Regions from separate parts of the Homo sapiens genome. Here region 2 is linked to region 1. The links are contacts of gene promoters, found by promoter capture Hi-C in human tissues and cell types (Jung and others, 2019). All regions are on one chromosome and are shown on one strand. Each heading gives the region's core, a stretch centred on a gene start or on the middle of the fragment in contact. The rest is flanking DNA. Distances are from core to core; before and after follow the strand shown.

Evidence for each region. The method cuts DNA at HindIII sites, captures the fragments that hold promoters and counts their contacts. A contact is called where the count stands out against the background at its distance.
Region 2: a contact is called between a fragment that was not itself captured here and the fragment with the promoter of YWHAQ in region 1, in 1 of the 25 tissues and cell types used here (IMR-90 fibroblasts).

Annotation. Positions count from the first base shown.
Region 1 is chr2:9,628,905-9,632,820 of GRCh38, reverse strand. It overlaps YWHAQ (tyrosine 3-monooxygenase/tryptophan 5-monooxygenase activation protein theta), which reads left to right and starts at 1,824. Exons shown (of 6, transcript NM_006826.4): 1 at 1,824-1,880; 2 at 2,287-2,662. The coding sequence starts at 2,369. RefSeq lists silencers at 1,503-1,672, 1,723-1,822, 2,023-2,372 and enhancers at 2,493-2,592, 2,336-3,238. The HindIII fragment of the contact is 8,846 bases long and covers 1-3,186 here.
Region 2 is chr2:9,960,309-9,964,224 of GRCh38, reverse strand. GRHL1 (grainyhead like transcription factor 1) reads right to left here. Exons shown (of 16, transcript NM_198182.3): 4 at 2,789-3,179; 5 at 1,694-1,770; 6 at 183-339. Among named protein-coding and RNA genes, the nearest start is that of GRHL1, 11 kb to the right of the region's middle. The HindIII fragment of the contact is 3,483 bases long and covers 351-3,833 here.

The DNA.
Region 1 (3,916 bases), core at 575-3,074:
GCTCCTTCTGGTAGTCCCTCTCTACCACAGAGGTTCCATCCCCTGACAATTTCCTCTCCTGGGTCTCTATCCCCCATCCACCTCCACTGGCTTCTCCCCTTGCCCGGGTTGCCTCTAATTTTGGTGAGCTTGAAATTCACTGGTCATACAGAAGGCATTTTATCTGACCTTCCACATGCAAATTCTTTCCATTGGGATTTCTCGGTGTCCAGCTCCACCCCAGCCCACAGGGCCATAAACACTCATGTGTCTGTAGCGGGGCCCCAGGGATTCCAGAAATAACAGCAGGGCCCTCCATTAGAAGGCTGGAACATAGTAAGGCATTTCTGCATTAAGACACAGGCCCTTTCCAATCCAGGCCGCTCCTGTCTGTCAAAGCACAAAGCAACCTTCACAAGTCAGGACAGGGAGGGGCAGTCAAGAGGGAGTCTGAATTTCTGGAAAGTCGGCACCTTCTCCTCCCATCTGTCTGCACTCTCAAATCTCCCATTCTAGAGATTCTCCGGATTTGCTCCAGTCTCCACTCAGAATGGGAAATTCTTTATGATCCATTCTCCTTAGACCTGCTGGAATCGGGATCATAGCAGCGTGAACCCAGAGGGCAATTCTCATCTTAAGATGGCACAGGGACCACGCGCCAGACGGGCAGGGCAGCCACCCTACCTGGATGGAGTTAGGGAACTGGGGAAGTGCAAGGAGAGACAGGAGTGGTTTAAGAGGAAAGGGAGCTGCCAGGGATGACCCTGAATGGGAGGGGCCTGGGGGAATCTTTCTCGCTTCAGCAGGGTGTTCCCCAGGAGGAGAAAATCAGAAATCAACATCCAGGGAGAGGATTTCAGCTTTTCAAGTGACCTCTCACAAATAATACCAGAAACAAAAGCGTGTGCACATGTGACAACGATGTGAAAAATGATGTATTTAGGTGCATAACCTGGAAAGCCTAAAAGATACATAAAAATTGCTTTTTTTTTGCGGGGAGAGATGTTATGGGCAGGGTTTTTTTTTGCGGGGGTGGGAAGGGGTAGTAATAGGTGTTTTCCTGCAAATTGTGCTTAATGTCATTTCTCATTTTAAAGAAAACCACAATACTTGGCATTGTCACAGAAACTCCCCTGGATCTTCTGGGACCTACCTTTTCACAAGGGAATTTTTTGTTTTAGGATGCCCATCTGAAAACTTGAATTTATCATGTAAATGCCATACTGAAGACACCGTCTCCAGAATCAATTCTTCTTTAATGGGGATGCGGTTTGCTTAATTCGGAGCCCTAATGGCAACGTCATTAAGGTCTGGGTTTAGTGTCTTGGGATCCAAACCTTTGTCACGGATAGAAAGGTGGAGGAAAGAAAGGCCCCCGTGCTCTAAAACAGCTGAATATGTCACCCTCCGAAGTCCAGCCTCGGCCAGAGCCCGTGAGATGCAATGCACCATCCGCAGCGGGAGACGCAGCCGCCGCCTAGGAGGTCGTGCGCGCCTCTGGGTCTCGTGCCGCACCCAGAAGTGCCGGGGTGGCGGGGAGGCTGAGGGGAGTTGGTAACGGCATCGCCATGGCAACAGTGACGTCCTTTTACCCTGGATCTAATTGGAGGAAACCCCGTGGCCGAAGCCGCAGCCTGCCGGCCAACCGAACTTCCCCGTACCGACCCACCCTCCTAGCCTCCGCGTTCCCTCCCGCTCCGCCCCCCTCGCCCCCTTCCGCGCGCTCGGTCCTCATTGGCCAGCGGCGCGCTGGGGGCGGGACTCTCGGGAGAAGCTCGGCGCATCATTGGGCGGTGGACCGCCCCTCGGCCCCGGGGTAGGCTGACACGGGAGGGTCCTCAGCTAAAGCCAAAAGCAGATCAAAGTGGTGGGACTCGCGTCGCGGCCGCGGAGACGTGAAGGTGAGCGCCTGGGTCGGCCCGCGGGCTTCCTCCGGCCGCGCTCGGATTGAGGGCCGGGCGGAGGTGCCGCCCTTGAGAGCAGCCGGTTGTCGATGCCGCTCCCCTCAGGGACGGCTCCGGGCGGGAAGGTGCGGGGCCAACGGTCGCTTCCATCTTGGGCCGGCCGGGCGGGGGTGGCGGGAGCGGCCGCGGCTCGGGCTCCCTGCGCGCGGGGCCTCCGCGCCGCCCCCGCCTCCTCCAGCCGCGGGCCGCGGCCTCCCCGGGTGCCCAGCGGGGGAGGGGGCGGGGGAGAGGGAAATTCAAGCGGCCGCGTGTGCGGGAGACAAAAGCGGGCGGCGGGCCGCATTGTCTGACGGCGCTCCCTCTCTGCTTTTTGTTCTCGCCTCGCCGCCCCGCCCCTCCGCAGCTCTCGAGGCTCCTCCCGCTGCGGGTCGGCGCTCGCCCTCGCTCTCCTCGCCCTCCGCCCCGGCCCCGGCCCCGCGCCCGCCATGGAGAAGACTGAGCTGATCCAGAAGGCCAAGCTGGCCGAGCAGGCCGAGCGCTACGACGACATGGCCACCTGCATGAAGGCAGTGACCGAGCAGGGCGCCGAGCTGTCCAACGAGGAGCGCAACCTGCTCTCCGTGGCCTACAAGAACGTGGTCGGGGGCCGCAGGTCCGCCTGGAGGGTCATCTCTAGCATCGAGCAGAAGACCGACACCTCCGACAAGAAGTTGCAGCTGATTAAGGACTATCGGGAGAAAGTGGAGTCCGAGCTGAGATCCATCTGCACCACGGTGCTGGTGAGTCCTCGGCGCGGGGAGCAGGGGAGGCCTTTTGTGAGATGCTTTTCATTGAGAGTTTCGCGGGCACGGAAACAAACGTGAGCCGGGGCTTGCCGGACTGTCTGCTGGGGTGGAGGGTTTTAGGTGAGCCCTGACTTCCCTACTGTGTCCCTCCGGTTGTTGAGACTCAAGAAGCCGCTTTTCCAAGGATAAGTCCTTTTTTTTCGCCCCAGATGCTGGGTAGCTACCAAACGATGGAACTTGGAAACATCCAAGTAGGTCTCTGCGAGACTGAAAGGCGTTTTTAAGTTTCTTGTGCGGGGAGACTGCGTCCTGAGATCTGTGAGCCCTTTAAATGTATTCAGTCGGTTCACAAGCTTCAGGCAGTTGAAAGAAGGCGCAGGCACCTTTTTGTTACAGACAATGTAGTAGGGATTTTTTCCCAAACCCAGTAATGGAAATTTACTTAGAAAATCTGAACAGATACTTTATTTTTCAAGTAAGAGTATCTGTTGTGCTCCCCCCCACCCCCCATAAACAGGAGAGGAGGGGAGTTCGGGAAATGTGAAAAGGACACAGCTGTATCTGAAGAACACAATGTCCTGGTAAATTTCAACATTTAATAACATTTCCTTGCTGTTGCACACCTGTGCTTAAACACTAGTGTTGAAGTGAATTCGTTTCCAGTGTGGAGCAGACAAGGAAAGCTTTCCAGGTTTTGAACTGTCCAGTCTTAGCAAGGACGATTGTTGGGTGGAGTAGGTGGCTGCTGTGATTCACCCTTATTAGTGAGAGAGAACATTTTTAGCTTTGTCATTCCATGGATCTTTTGATCCGTAGGATAAGTTTTTAAAACTGAAATACCAGCATTATATCCAGGAGTGTTTTTAAATGTTTCAGTGCTGCCAAGAGTCATTTCTATGAATAAAATGGGAAATAATCTCATATGGTTTGCCTTTTAAGTGTCACTTTTACAAGAGGCCTACTTATTTTTGATGTGTTTGTGCACATCATATTTTAGGTGGGCTTTGATAGACAAGCATACTAGACTGGGGATTTTTCAAAAGGGAATGGAAGAAATAATTTCTCCCTGGCCTCCTCCCCCACCCCCACCCCCCAAGCCGCCTTTCTTCATCTCATCAGAATGGTGGGGCAGGGAATATGTTCCCCACCCCTTGTTTAAAAAAAAAAAATCCACGAAACTTTTTTAACCTATCTATTTTTCTAATACGATGACAGGCGATCCGGACAAAATCATGGCTGATGGAAATA
Region 2 (3,916 bases), core at 843-3,342, 330 kb before region 1:
GAATGCATTACAACATAAAGACACTAAAGGGTGAGTATGTTTTGGAAAACGTATTTAGTACTATATTTTACAGTGAAGGCTTAAAGCTGCAATTTCAGGCGGTCATTCAGAGCTGCTTCAGACCTGGAAATGTTAGGCTCTGACTAGCTTTCCTAGAGAACAGGACTAAGAGCAGAACTTACTCGAACTTTGCTGATGGGATGATGGATTCCTTCACTGCTGCTCACCTCCTTCAAGGTGATGGGATAGAACTGGCCTTTGTTCAGGTACGTCATGGTACTGTCTCCTGGCTTCTGTCGAAGTGATTTTGAAGCTTCTAGGGTATATTCAAAGTTGTTCCTAAAGGACAAAAAAAGTCACAGGTCTCTAAATCTACTCTCGTGGAAGCTTGCTATACATCATATTATAAATAGCATTTGCTATCTTTTTCACTTAAAGAAAATCTGAAACAAAAGTACTCAGCAGCTAAAAATTCTCAAGTCTCTCAGAGGTGGAAGTACAAATTGCCGATTAAAAATTCTATGATGTGATGGATGTCAGTAATCGGACATCCTGAGTTTGAGGGCTCGAGATATTAAAGATACTGATAGGTGGAAAGGACTTTGGAAGGAACTTCTCACAAGACATGCTGCCAATCTGATATTTATCCAGCAGAGGTTTCAGACAGGTGGCTGGTGTTCCTCTGACTAAATTCCTTTTGGCCTATATAGCATTTTTTTGTTGTTCCTACTTGTAATTTAAATGTCTTTAATAGGCAGGCACTCCACAATTCTCGACATTACCTATTACCTAACACTACCACTCATATATGCCCCTAAAGTTGTTTAAGAACCTTCCCAGGCCACGGCTCAGCAGATTACACCTATTTTTGTAACTAAAGTTTTATTAGCACATAGCCACATCATTTGTTTACACATTACCTATGGCTGCTTTTGCACAATGGCAGACCGGGGTAGTTGCAAAAATATACAGAGGTTGTATGGCCCACAAAGCCTGAAATATTTACTCTCTGAGTCTTTACAGAAAAAGTTAGCTGACCCCTATCCTAAACCCTAAAGGTATTTCCATTTGGGACTCCTGCATCTTGAGGCAGATCTATAAGGGAAGTCTCAATTCCCATAAAATCTTAGACACTTTTAAAACTGTAAAATATAACACATGTAAAAAACACATAAAACAAAATATGAGTTCCTAATTAACTTGGAAAATATTCATACTCCCAGAGTGAGATACAATTTTGTGAGGTCAAAAGAAAGTTGTCAGCTCAGAAAAAAGTTGACTTCATTTATTTTATCATTAGTGAGGCTGATTTTAAAAAAAAAAAGCTTTTATCACTTGATATTACTCCTAAATTCTCACCTAATTATATATATTTGGCAACAGAAAGGACCTCAGAGACCTAATTTAATCCCCTCATCTCTCCTATTAGATTCCATTCTACTACCATCACATAAAGAATCCAAAAGAAAGAAAAAGCACCAACACCAAGAATTAAGGAAACTTGAAACATAGTTCAAAGAGTTCAAAATTAAAAGCACTGAAGCAGATGTCCTCTACCCAAGACTGTACCACAGTAAAAGTAGTAAGATAAGGGGAAAGCCTGCTAAAGCCACCTTTGATTTATCAAGTTAACAAGAAAGGAATAAGTTATAAAAGCTGCAAATTAAAAATCAAATTAAAAGACATCTATTACCCAGAAACACTGTCAAAAACATAGTCCTCTGAATTCATGCCAGGCATCCGCAGACTGAGATCCGAGGGGAAGAAAACCTGAAATATCAATGTGATAAGCCACAACTATTTAACTGGTTATCATGCTTACTAAAGACCAAGCTCTGGTACCGCATAAAAGTATGTGGCTTACAGCAACCCACTATCCTTTCCATATTTATTTTTGAGTAAAAATTTTGATTCTACAAATACTTAAAAAATTAAAACAGAGAAAATATCCACTTTTATATGCCACTCAAGTAAATTACAACAAGCTGTGTAGGTACTCCCACTAAGTGCTTCTGACTCACGACCCCCTTTTCTGTCTTTCACACACATCCCAACTCTGTTCAAACACTAGGACCTGCAACCAAAATTTCATGACTTTTAAAAGTCACCCTATCATTATACCAAGTTAAGACACAGCATCAAGTTCACACCACAGCTGAAGAGATGTGGTGCATTTTCTCAGGAAAGGCTAACATTCTGCCCCTAACTCCATACGCAGAGATGGATGCTCTTTACCCCACCAAGTCACTAAGTATGGTTTCTAACACCTTTAGTCCCTAACTTTTAGCTGAGTGAGGTATTCATCACCATAAAACCCCCAGAACTATTTGGAATTAATTTGTAAACCTCACACAATGCATTTGTGCTCTCCCTGACTACATTACCAACCAAGAAACACCAAGCAAAGATATAATAACTCATTTTATATGAGCTCCAGGGAGCTTGTTTGGCACTGGGAGAAGTGCTGAAAACAGACTAGGAGAATCTACCTGTGGTCAACAGAAGATTATGTATGGGGTTCTCTTTCTCCAGCAAATCCCTTAGCTGAAATCATAATTGTTAACTCAGCTGCTGGTAAGATTAGCCTTGCATCCTTGATAATAACTTCTGGTTGTATAGGTTTAGTTTACAAATTATACCCATGGGCCTTTTCTCTTAAAAAAAAAATCTTTTATTCCTAATCCATTCATTTCAGGCTGAGTTTCATGCTTACATAACAAGGAAAAGGTGGAACCCAATACTTATACAAACACGCAGGCGTCTTAGGAAGATGTTTTTGTTTCCTTACCTCCTGAACGCCTTCCTTGAAGGTCTCTGAGAAGGTCGAGTCTGGAGTTCGCCTTTGAGCATTTGGGGCTTGAGCACCAGAGCTGAACTGGTCAGTATTGAGATTCCGATCGAAAACCACCACCCGCTCAGTGGGCTCAGGATGATACACTGCTGGGGGGATTCCCACAGCGAAGCCATGTGGCTGGGTTTCTGTCTTGATGGAGTGGGTAGGCATCGTTGCTATGGAGACAGTGACTGTCGTATCTGGAGCTGTCAGATGGCCTCTCTTATCAATGCCCAGCTGGTTGCCATGGGGAAGGACAATGTTAAATGGCACATTTTTCAGTACTTGCACTCTGTTTTCTCCAGCAGAGATGAGGGGCTGCTCTGTCACAATTGGTATGCTGTTTCTTTAAGAAAAGAAAACTGCTTTCAAACGCGATGCTGATGTAGTTCTTTGACAATTTTTATTTTCCTAATGGCATTGGGCTGTTGGGTCCTGTGCAATAACACTTGACAGAATAAACAGAAAACATCAAAACTACCCATTACTAGATAAAGGGAAAAAGGCTTTCTGGTTATCGGTCAAATAAAATCCAAACCTATTAAGTAAAATTTCATTCGAAATACTAAGGGCTCAGAGCTCTCCTCTAACAAGCTTTACTTTCCATAATCCTAAAAACAATTACTGTGTTTTACTAGAAACCTGAAGCTATGCGATCTGATCAACTGGGGTTACAGCATAGACGCCAGGGTCAAATTGCCTGGGTTCAAGTTCTGTGTCACCTGAGCAAGTTACTTCATCTCTTAGTAACTGAATCCTCATCTGCAAAATGGGGACAATAATGGCATCCATTCTCATCAGGTTGAGATGAGATGATACACTAAAAGGTGTATAATAATGCCTGACACACAGTCTTCAAGAAGTATGAGCTATTATTACTTGGTCACCACTTTTCCTACCACCTATGCCATTTGGCTTTCTCCTTTTTTTTTTTTTAATTTTTTATTTTTTTGAGACAGAGTCTTGCCCTTATGGCCCAGGCTGGTGTGCAATGGCGTGATCTAGGCTCACTGCAACCTCCGCCTCCCGGGTTCAAGCGATTCTCCCACCTCAGCCTCCCGAGTAGCTGGGATTACAGGCGCA